Regions from separate parts of the Homo sapiens genome. Here region 2 is linked to region 1. Evidence: promoter capture Hi-C in 16 types of primary human blood cells and fetal thymus (Javierre and others, 2016). All regions are on one chromosome and are shown on one strand. Each heading gives the region's core, a stretch centred on a gene start or on the middle of the fragment in contact. The rest is flanking DNA. Distances are from core to core; before and after follow the strand shown.

Region 1 (5,822 bases), core at 3,170-5,669:
GAGGCTGAGGTTGTGGTGAGCTGAAATTGCGCCACTGCACTCCAGCCTGGGTGACAGAGAGAGACTGTGTCTCAAAAAAAAAAAAAAAAAAAGAATGTGAATGCTAAAGATGCTTATTACTACAAAATTGTCATTACTTCTAGGCCTTTCCAAGGGACAAAGGAAGTAAAATGCTTTTTTTCCCCTAATAATTCTTACTGGGATATAAGAAAAACATTTTTTAAAAAGAAAAGAATCATAAGTTCATATTCTTTCTAATTCAACTTTAATATTACATGGATTCTACTTACTCTGAAAATCACTGTTCCTAAAAACTCTAGTAATTTTTACCTATATATACATGAATAGTTTGAAAGTACTATAATAGTATCTGTATTTCAACCACCAATAAGACTATTGACTAAAGCTTAAGATATCTTTGTAGTTCTATTTATCCTGAGCATATATTCTGATTGTACAGTGAAAACAATATTTTCTAAAGTAATTAAAGTGTTTACTTGGTATGGTTATGCCACCAACTTAATATACAGTTAGATTATTTGTTTTCAAATTTTAGGAATTGCATTTTTCTTTCGGATTTGAAATTATTTTGAAAATGTAAAACATATACATGATTCTAAAATCAAAACCATATAGCCAAGGCTTATTCAGAGTAGTCTAGCTTCCACGCCTGTCTCCTCCACCTGTTTCCTCCTATTCCAAATATATGCAAATACTCATTTGTAGTTTAGCTATCTTACAAAAAAAAAGCACATATACTGTTCTGCACTTTGGTTTTTTTTTTTTTTTACACTAATATATATTCGGAGATCATTTCACCTCAGTGTAAAGAAATGGCCCTCGTTCTTTTTCACAGTTGCATAGTTTCATTGTGTAGATCTACTCGAGTTTGTTCAACCAATCTCTTATTTGGGGTTATCTGGATTGTTTCCAATCTTTTGCTATTACAAATAATACTGCAATGAATAACCTTGTGCTTAAGTCATTATTTGGGATATTTTCCTAGAATTGGGTTTCTAGGGCAAAGGGCAATATATATGTAATTTTGCTGAGGATTATCAAATTCCCTTCCATAGCTGCCATGTACCATTTTGCATTCTCAATGGCACTATGTGGCATCTCCATAGCCTGCTAACCAAGTAGGTGGTCAAACTTTTGGATTTTTGCCTCCTTTTATCATCTTTGCCCAAGATACACCACGACGCTTTCATCTGCCTTTGGAAGAACTCTCTCAGGATAAACAATAGGTGATTGTATTGAGGGTGACATAAGGAGGGTGGCTGCAATATCTCTATCTATTTCCACTCACCTAATCATGGAAATGCCAGCGCCCACAGCACTATCCTTGTTAAGAGCTTGTATTTTCCAAGGCTGGCTCGGGTTTCCAGCCAAAGAAAAGGACATCAAATATGACCTTACTTCTTTCTAAGGTCAGTAGAATGCAGAGTGCCCAGTGAGTTCTACTGGTATAAGCTTCAGAATCCTGAAAAAGGTAGAGGAGGAACTGTGATCATTTTTTGTCAGCGTGCTGTCTCCAAAACAACTCCGATGCCAAGGGGAAGTCCCTGAGTGTGGCTGAAAGTTTCCATAGGTTGTGGAGTGACCACTCTCTAACCTGCAGGGCTACTCACACCCAGGACTTCTTTTTTGCTGCTTTGTAGGAGTAAATGTCATGGATGGACACTGTTTTTTTCTTTCAGCATCTCCCATTTCCCAGTGGGCAATTTTGCACTCCAGGGTGACAGACATTTGGTAATGTTTGGAGACATACCTCGTTGTCACAACTTGGAAAGGGGTGCTGCTTAACATCTAGTACGTAGAGGTCAGGAATGCTACTCAACACCGTACAATACTCAGGACTGCCCCCCTTCCCCCAACAAAGAATTATCTGGTCCAAAACGCCAAAAATGCCAAGGCTGAGAAATCCTGCTGTATTCTTTCTTTATGCACACATTCACAGACATCTTTAATATAACTATTATCAGTGGCAGAGGAAGGGCAGAATCACAGATACTCCCCCTCCCTGTTTCTCCAAAAGTCACTAGCAATTCAGAAATTTCTTTAATCATAAAGACTCTAAGGAATTATATATTTATCTGGGAGATTAAAGAACAAATACCATTTTAACCTTCTAAAAACTGATTATCATTAAGTATAATGCAACCTTTTAACTGTAAGTATAAAGGAAAATGCTGATTATTTAAAGTAAATGGGACCCAAAGTCCCATGAATAATCAAAAACTTGGTTAATAGAGTATGACCAGAGAATAATGCACTTGGCTTCTGTGGAGAAATTAAAGTACATGCTGTGAATTGCTATTGAGGAAATTGCGTGAAAAGTTACCCTTAAGGTACCATGAGGCTGAAGAAACAGCCTCAGGTGCACAATATATCACATTAGTCTCTATCTATCTTTGTATTTTCATGACTTCTTTCACCTTGGATAACCCAGAAGCTCTGGCCTTGGAACTTTTTGGAATGGTAAAGTATCTCACTCTCCATATTTATTTTCATCTCCTGGAATGGTAAAGTATCTCACTCTCCATATTTATTTTCATCTCCTAACAGACCTGAATTTTGTTGCCAAGAGTTTATCTCTTTCACAGGAATTATTTTCAAACTTCAGCTTACTTACTTTAAGGGCATAGACTGTGTTTGATACTTATAATCACAATTCATGTTAAATAAAATGTGCCCCTGAAAAGTTACACCTAAACTGAATTTTTGTAAATAAAAAATTTAAATCACAAGGAAAACTTGCCAAAGGGAGAGTATGAAGCTAAATCTTTTGTAGAGAAAATCATCTTGTTTTGCAAAGTGAACAACTACTCTTTAAGTCCCAATCTTTATTTGTAGCTCAAGAGGCTGGTACAGTATTATGCATGATGCTCATTTAAAAAATACTGACAGGCTGGGCATGGTAGCTGGTAGCTCACACCTGTAATCCCAGCACTTTGGGAAGCCGAAGTGGGCGGATCACTCGAGGTCAGGAGTTTGAGACCAGCCTGGTCAACATGGTGAAACCCAGTCTCTACTAAAAATACAAAAGTTAGCCGGGCGTGGTGGCAGGCGCCTGTAGTCCCAGCCACTTGGGAGGCTGAGGCACAAGAATTGCTTGAAACTGGGAGGCGGAGGTTGCAGTGAGCTGAAATCGCGCCGCTGTACTCCAGCTTGGGTGACAGAGCAAGACCCATCTCAAAAAATAAATAAAAAATAAAAATAAAATACCATGAATTTGGAAGGATTTTGAAAGTTTTAGAGAGTTTTATAAGCTATTTTTAAGAGTGTAAAAAATGGATAATATATCCTTTATTAAGAACGGTTAACACCTGTTTTAGGTGATAAGAAAGGAGGTAAGATCTTAGGCACATTTGAAAAAAAAATAGGTAGCATTACTTAAAAGATAATCATATTGACTGTTTCCTCTCAGCAATAAGGAGAAAAGAGTGGATGGGAGCCTATTATTTAGACGGTGTAATCTTTCGGTTAGAATACGGATTCTGAAACCAGATTGTCTGGGCTCACATCCCTGTCTAGTGTGGTCTTAGGGAACTTACGCGACTCGACTGCACCTTAGTTTCCTCATACAAAACACGGAGAATACTAATATTATCTACTTAATGAGGTTGTTCTGAGGATTAAATAAAGTAATACATGAACTAGTACGTGAAAAGCACTCCGGTCAGCGATAGTCTTCAATCCTGGAGTTGAGCTCCAGGCTAGGCATAAAGAGGAAGATAAGAGGCAGGGAGTAGGCAACGTTTCATTCTTCCTCTCCGCACCCGCGGGAAGGAGGCACCGCTGTTTCTCCCAAGGCTCAGCGAGGAGGCCGGTAATTCGAAGTTGGATCCGAGGACTTTCCTTGGGACCCCTTTCCGCCGCACCACGCTGCCTTATGTCTGGTTGGGCCCTGAGGACACGAGGGCTCAGCCCCACGCCCCGACTAGGCGTTCCACCACTGAGACGTGGCCCCAGCTCCAGGAGGCATGCAGCCCGAGAGGCCGCCTTCACGCCCGGCCACGGCCACTGCCACTGCCAGGGGCTGGTGGCGATAGCGACAAAAAGCTTCCGGGAGGAACTGGTGCCTCCGCCCGACGCCCTTCCTTGCGGGCAAGCCGGGGGCTGACCGTTGTTCGTGACACCAATACTTATGCATGCCACTCAGTGCTGGGCGCCGGGGACTCTAATGAATCCAGACTCGGCCCAGATACCGTGTGCAGAGGGACCACTCGCCGCCCACAACTGATCCCTGTCACTGACGACCTTTGCTGGCCCAGAGCGGCGGGGTGGGAGGAGCTGAACCTCCCAACCCGGGTTCACCTCCAAAGCACCGCCCCTGCGGGGGCGTTCTCGGGTACGCCGTAAAGTAGAGAGTATACTTAACAACCCGCCTCTGTCTTTACGGCAGGCCGCATTCCATGCCTCCAATATGGCGTCCTCCACATAGGCAGTGGCTGTGGTTTCTACCCCGGGTGGCCGGGGGCAGTGCTGAGCTGGGACTGTTGTTTGCCCAGCCTGGGCTGCAGAAAGCAGCAGTTAAAGTTCGTTTCTGGTCACTGCTCCAGGAAGCCACCTTACTCTGAGGGTCAAGAATTGCCGCTTCCTTTTAGTTACTGTAAGTTCCTCCTCTGCCCCTGGTTTGTTTCCCGCGGCACTTCTGGATACCCCCAGGTCCCAGACCCTTCCAGACTCAAACCATGAACTTTCGGCAGCTGCTGTTGCACTTGCCACGTTATCTTGGAGCCTCGGGTTCCCCGCGTCGCCTGTGGTGGTCCCCGTCCCTCGACACCATCTCCTCGGTGGGCTCTTGGCGTGGTCGGTCCTCCAAGTCCCCGGCCCACTGGAATCAGGTAGTGTCAGAGGCGGAGAAGATCGTGGGGTACCCCACGTCCTTCATGAGCCTTCGCTGCCTGCTGAGCGACGAGCTCAGCAACATCGCTATGCAGGTGCGGAAGCTGGTGGGCACTCAGCACCCTCTGCTTACCACAGCCAGGTGAGCTACCCCTCTCCCGCTGACACACTCGCACTCATTGGAATACTTTTTTTTCTGGCGGGCATACGCATTCTAGCTCTCTCAGACTGGCTCCTGATTTATCTCTTTTTAGTCCTTCCTTTTTACTCACTCCTCCTAGACATTCCGTGTTGTCTCTTCTCTAGTCCACTTAACGTTCTTGCTCAGCTGAGTGCATAAGTGGTTTTCTTTGAAACACTTGTATGCTTTCCTCGATTTTGCTTCTTAATTGTTGAGGATGAAGATGCCTCAGTGATTTGTGGAGAAATCGAGCGGAGATGTAGGTTTATTGAGTCACTTCCTAGAAATTTTTTTTTTTTTTAATGGGATAGATTAATTTTCTGTCCCGCACTGTTCAGGGGGTCACCTCCAGAAAGTAGGCAAGGAGAGAGAGAGAGGCTGAAGGTAGATAATTCTTTCCAACGAATGTCTTGGGGTTGAAGTAGGAATTTATCCCGTTAGTAGTCATTATCTTCTTGGGATGTTTATCACTTATGCTGTACTACTGCTGTGAAACCTGCCTTTAGGATTTATAAAAGTTTTTTTTTTTTTTTTTTTTGAGACGGAGTCTCGCTTTGTCGCCCAGGCGGGAGTAGCTGGGACTACAGGTGCCCGCCACCACGTCCGGCTAATTTTGTTTTTGTATTTTTAGTAGATACGGGGTTTCACCGTGTTAGCCAGGATCGTCTCAATCTCCTGACCTCGTGATCCACCCGCCTCGGCCTCCCAAAGTGCTGGGATTACAGGCGTGAGCCACCGTGCCCGGCCAAAAGTTTTTTTTTTTTCTTCCACTTAAACCCCACACCTGAAT
Region 2 (5,916 bases), core at 2,923-5,422, 590 kb before region 1:
TGACTCTTAAGCTGATGCCTGAGCCTTCTCTGAGAAAGCCACTCTGCTAATCTGCCCTTGATGAGGCTCCATTGATTATCTAAGATGAAGGAAATTCATAATGACCACTTCACTTAGTGCTTAAAGGAAGCTTTATTATTATTAATATTCTTTAACTCACCAATTTCTAAAACATACAGCTTCTCACTGTTTATAATCTTAAGCTCCCAATTCCTGCAAAAAGATAAAAAAGGAATTTACTAGAGATCTGTTATTTCGATTCAGAAAGTCATGGCTTTTTAATAATGAAGACTTTTTAACCCCATTATATAAATGAACTGCTTTATGCTTTATGTTACCACCATCTAATGATCATTGAAAAAGTTTTGATGGTAATGCATTAATGTAATTATTAATAAAAGAAATTAAGTTCTTTTGTTCTTCAGAGAAGCTTTCTTTATAAATTGCTTTTGCAAAAGAAATTATTTGTTTTAATTAGGTATCTTGCATAGAAGAAATTTGCTATTGCTCTCTCATGATAATGCACTTTATACTACTTTTGCTGGCAGTATGTGGACCCCTTTTATCCCTATATTGTTATGTCAGTTGTCACGACATAGCTCATTATAACACAGATGTACAACTGTTGTGAATGAAATTGTGTTCCCTTAACTTCCCTGCAACACATCAACTACAAAAACTATATAATTGTTTTTGTAAACATGTACAAAAACTATGTAATTGTTTGTTTTTATTTATATCAACTCTGCCTCATCCCTAAAAGGATTGCGGGCTACTTCATGATGATATTAAACTAGCATTAAGAGGGGCAATGAGACAAGTTCTTACTCTTTCATGCAGGTTGGAATGCAGTGGCGCAATCACAGCTTATTGCAGCCTCGACCTCCCCAAGCTGAAGCAATTCTCCCCTCTCAGCCTCCCAAGCCGCTGGGACCACAGATGCACGCCACCATGCCTGGCTAATTTTGTATTATTTGTAGAGACAGGTTTTCACCATGTTGCCCAGGCTGGTCTCGAACTCCTGGACTCAGGCAATCCACCTGCCTCCCAAAATGCTGGGATTACAGGTGTGAACCACCATGCTGGCCTATTTTTATATCAATGGCTTATTAACTTGTGGTATGATCATCAGCATATCACCTATTTCTGTGGCTTAGTTTCCTAATTTGTAGTGATCCCTCAGATTTTTTAAATAAGGGTGAGAAGTTAGAATGAGATTCATGTTCTGGAGAAGATAAAGCTTCAGAGAATGTAGAGTATGTGAGTTCAGAGAGGGGACAACTCCTGAAATAGGTTTACCAAGAGGATCCTGTGTACAATGGGTGCAGAAGGAGCCCTGCACAAGGGGGCTGTACAAGGAGGTGAATGGGGCTGAATTCCAGCTTAGCTTCTGGAGGCAGGAATGACCTTTTGTAATTTATCTACCCAGAGGGAATATCTTTTTCTGATTTGCACAAAGGAGCTTTACTGTGCTGTCTGCCCCTGTCTACCAGGTTTAGGTTTCATCTCAGTTGCTAACTCTGATCAGTTGGTGGGGACTGCCTGAATCCCTGTATGGTGTAAGATATCTATGGGTAGTGGAGGGAGTAGGCAGTGGCATGTATTTGTAGATTCCGAGTCTTGAACTTTTAATGGTTTAGAATGTAGATATAAATATGTTTATTTTGCAGTGTTTGAGAGTGCAGGCTCAAGAATCAGACTGAGTACAGAGTCTAGCTTTTTACTTACCAGTTTTATGTCCTTGGGCAACTTCCTTAATTTATCTAAACCTATCTCTGTTCCTTATTTATAAAATGGAGATAATGATAATTTTTCCCTCATGGAATCACTGCAAGAATTAAATGGGCAAATGTGTTTAAAGTGCAGTGTAAGCATAGTTCTTAGAACATAGCAAGTATTTAGTAAGTGTTAACTTTCGTTGTAGTAATTGTTGTCTGTCAGAGTACATGGATGTCCCTTAGTGTGTCATATCCTAGTGTCTACCTAGTCCGTCTCTCTTTTCTCCACAAATTCTACTTGCCTTGCTGCCTTTCTCCTGGGTAATTGCAATAGCTTTGCATGTTGTCTTTCCACTTCCAGTTGAGAGAGATCCTATCTGATGGCCCTGAATTTCTAAATAAGGTGGGCATAATACAAAGCCATCTGTTGAAATTAAGGGGAACAAGAGTAGGGCTGGGACTAGAGATGAGAAAATATGTGGAACATCCCTTGCAGAGCAATTAGGAGGGCATCTACAAGGATCATTTTGTTGCCCCGAGATCAGAACACATGAATTTGAATTGAGTCCCTTCATTATCATTTTAGAATTTCTGTAGTAGTATTCTGTAACCAGACTGAGAGTACAGAAAGTAGATGGGGACTGTCCAGGGATGAAAATGGCTGTGAATATGTGGAAGATAAAGAGGGCAAGGATTCTAGGAGAGTCAGATGGAAACGACTGACCACAAGTTCCAAGATCTGGAACCAGGCAGTTGAACCTCGATTGGAGATAGCAGGCTGAGAACACAAGGAGAGGTAAAGACAAAGGTTTACCTGAGGATAAAGACTAGGTTCCCTGGCTGAGCGCAGTGGCTCATGCCTTTAAGTAATCCCAGCACTTTGGAAGGTTGAGGTGGGAACATCACTTGCGCCCAGGAGTTCAAGTCTGCAATGAGCTGGCAAATTGTGCCACTGCACTCCAGCCTGGGCAACCGAGCAAGACCCCGTTTCTTAAAAAAAAAAAGAAGAATAGATTATTCCCTGAAGAAGGGAAAATGGATACATAAATTGTGATATACACATACATAGAAAATAAAAGGGATGAGTGAACTTGAGCTAACTCTAAGCAAGAATAGCCAGTTGCAGAGAAATACCATTTATGTAGGATTTTTAAAAATGTAAAACAATTTTGTTTCTAGACTTTACTTGAAGCCCCCACGTCAGTATTTTAGGCAAAATTCTCACCAGTTTGTTTCTCTGGGCTCCCAACTCGTGATGGATTAGAAAGAGCGAATTTTAAAAGTTACCCCATTAGGTACAATAAATGACTCATTAGTGAAGTTGGAAGATGCAGAGAACTATGAAATTTGACACAAAAAATGATAAGGCATATGAGTTTCGGTAAAATTAATGCAGGGTAAACAGTCTTATGCCTAAATAGCACTGTTAAGGCAGCATTTGATAGCTGATATTCCGTGATTATGACCTTGTGCCATCAAAAGTCCATTTGAATTTTATTTGGTATATTTTTATGAAAAGAGAGTATGTGATTATTTTAACATGTTCATGAAAATGGTTATGACTTTTTTAACTTTTGGAAAATAAAAGGAGTAAGCTTCATATATTTGGAAAATTCATGCTTGTTTGAATAAAGAATTACTGTAGTGTGAAACGAAGCTGATAGCTTAAGATATAAATGACAACATAGAATTGTTCCTTGAGTTATATTAATATACTTTTTGAATTTTTTTGACAGATTGTTTAACAAACAACAGTGAAGAATTATCAAACAGCACAGTATATTTCCTTAATCTATTTAATCACACCCTGACCTGCTTTGAACATAACCTTCAGGTATTTTATATATAATATTTAAAATTAAAATGCTGCCTTGTACAAAGGAATAATGTGCAGTTCCAAGTTTTTAGAGCACTAATTATTGATATTTATCTAAATTCATGATGTAAAGGAGTTAGTGGACCTGGATTTCTGCTCTTAAGTAAGTTCTTCTACTTACAAATCATGAAAACCTCAGTTCTCTCATTGTAAAATGGAGATAATATCTATCCTGCCTATCTTAAAGTATTTTGTAATGAGAATCTGGTGAGATAATGATTGTGAAAACATTGATTGAGGTGTGTGATTGTTTAATTAAAACACAATGGTTTTCAATCTGACTTACGTAGGTATTTTGCAGTGTAGTATGATTCTGTCTATAGGAAGTTTATTCTTTGCCTGAAATTTGCTTAAGTATGTTTTACCTACCTTAAAAAGCACTGTTTAGTAAGATAACTTTGAGTATTGAATTATGATAATAAAAGGTAGCTTTAAGAATCTTAACCTTGTAGATTATTGCCATCTCTATCTCTGACTCTTGAATTTTGGTATTGGAACTTGCCCGGTCGTGGTGAAGGACGAGGTTGGAACTCTGGTTAAAATGTAGTTTTGAAACTTACATAACAAGTAAGTAATCCCCATAGTAGATGTACACATGCTTAGGGTATAAGCATGTATGATTTCTTCTGTAATAAATGTGGTAACACTGAATTATGAATTTCCTTGAGAATAATAAAAATTGGGCCAGGTGCAGTATCTCATGCCTATAATCCCAGCACCTTGGGAGGCCAAGGCAGGCAGGTCACTTGAGGTCAGGAGTTCGAGATCAACCTGGCCAATATGGTGAAACCCTGTCTCTACTAAAAATACAAAACTTAGCCAGGCTTGGTGGTGCACGCCTGTAGTGAAGTAGAGGTTGCAGTGAGTTGAGATCGTGCCATTGCACTCCAGCCTGGGCGTTGCAGAGAGACTCTGTCTCAAAAAAATAAAATAAAAAAAATTAGGTGAACATTTCTCAGAATTTGTTCTGCAGCATGTTAATAGATGTCCTATCAGAAAGGGTTTAGTATTCCATTAAGGTTGGGAAATGCTTTACTACAGGACTTCAGAGCCTTTAGTGGACTGATGTGTGTTGTAACACTCAAATAGCAATTTTTCTATAAAGTCATCCCTTTTATATATGGCTTCACTTTCCACAGTTTCAGTTACCTGTGGCCAACTGCAGTCCAAAAATATTAAATGGAAAATTCTGGAAATAATAAGTTTTAAATTGTACACCATAAACAGTCTTCTTTTCATTTAACTTAGAGTACTTGTATGAGTTTGGTAGATTTCTAGAAGTAGAATTACTATATTGGCAGCCTAAGAAAAAGACACTAGAGAAAATTATCTCCAAATATGATGAGTTTATTAGGGAATAAGAAAGAAGTATGGTAATTTGGAATGCACTGGCAAACCACCAGTACATCCAGTGAGGGAAGGGTAAAGGGAAGCTTTTATTAGCAAAAAGGGAGAGGTTCACACAAGCTGCTTGGAAACTGAGTTCATTGGTTCCTGAGGCTCAAAGCCAAGTTGTCAGTTCATTGGTGGCGATGCCATTACTGGGCAAGTGTTCTTTTGAGTGCATCTTATCTGAATTACTGCAGTCCTAAAGAATGGCAGTGATAAACCATGTGAAAGCAGGAGTTGCAATGAAGGGCGTGAAAGGATTTCTTGTGGGGTTTTTAGAAAGTCTTTGGAAACAAGGACTCTTTTTGTCTCTATTTTGTCTTGGTCTGTCAAAAGGTGATTTCATCCTAATGTCTGCAACTTTCACATTATTAAAAGATATGTGCATTTTAAATTTGAATAAAAATTGTGGCCAGGTATGGTGGCACCTGCCTGTAATCCCAGCACTTTGGAAGGTTGAGGTGGGAGGATCATTTGAGCCCAGGAGTTAGAAATTAGCCTGGGCAAAATAGCAAGACCGTGTCTCAAAAAAAAAAAAAAAAAAAAAGGTTAAATTACTCCCCATCTAGATTATGTGCACAATTTTAGTTAAATGGATTATGTGCTCAATTTTTTTTTTTTTTTTTGAGACGGAGTCTCGCTCTGTCACCCGGGCTAGAGTGCAGTGGCGCGATCTCGGCTCACTGCAAGCTCCGCCTCCCGGGTTCACGCCATTCTCCTGCCTCAGCCTCCCAAGTAGCTGGGACTACAGGTGCCCGCCACCACGCCCGGCTAAGTTTTGTATTTTTAGTAGAGATGGGGTTTCACCGTGTTAGCCAGGATGGTCTCGATCTCCTGACCTTGTGATCCGCCCACCTCGGCCTCCCAAAGTGCTGGGTTTACAGGTGTGAACCATCGCGCCCAGCCCTGTGCTCAATTTTTAACTAAGTGCAC

Evidence for each region. The method cuts DNA at HindIII sites, captures the fragments that hold promoters and counts their contacts. A CHiCAGO score of 5 or more calls a contact.
Region 2: a fragment that was not itself captured here is called in contact with the fragment with the promoter of PDSS2 in region 1 in 2 of 17 cell types (naive B cells and total B cells); the score reaches 6.3 in naive B cells.

Annotation. Positions count from the first base shown.
Region 1 is chr6:107,458,161-107,463,982 of GRCh38, reverse strand. PDSS2 (decaprenyl diphosphate synthase subunit 2) reads left to right here and starts at 4,419. Exons shown (of 8, transcript NM_020381.4): 1 at 4,419-4,993. The coding sequence starts at 4,698. RefSeq lists enhancers at 3,457-4,378, 4,099-4,548. The HindIII fragment of the contact is 2,928 bases long and covers 4,068-5,822 here.
Region 2 is chr6:108,052,126-108,058,041 of GRCh38, reverse strand. It overlaps OSTM1 (osteoclastogenesis associated transmembrane protein 1), which reads left to right. Exons shown (of 6, transcript NM_014028.4): 3 at 3,455-3,552. Among named protein-coding and RNA genes, the nearest start is that of OSTM1, 20 kb to the left of the region's middle. The HindIII fragment of the contact is 1,714 bases long and covers 3,316-5,029 here.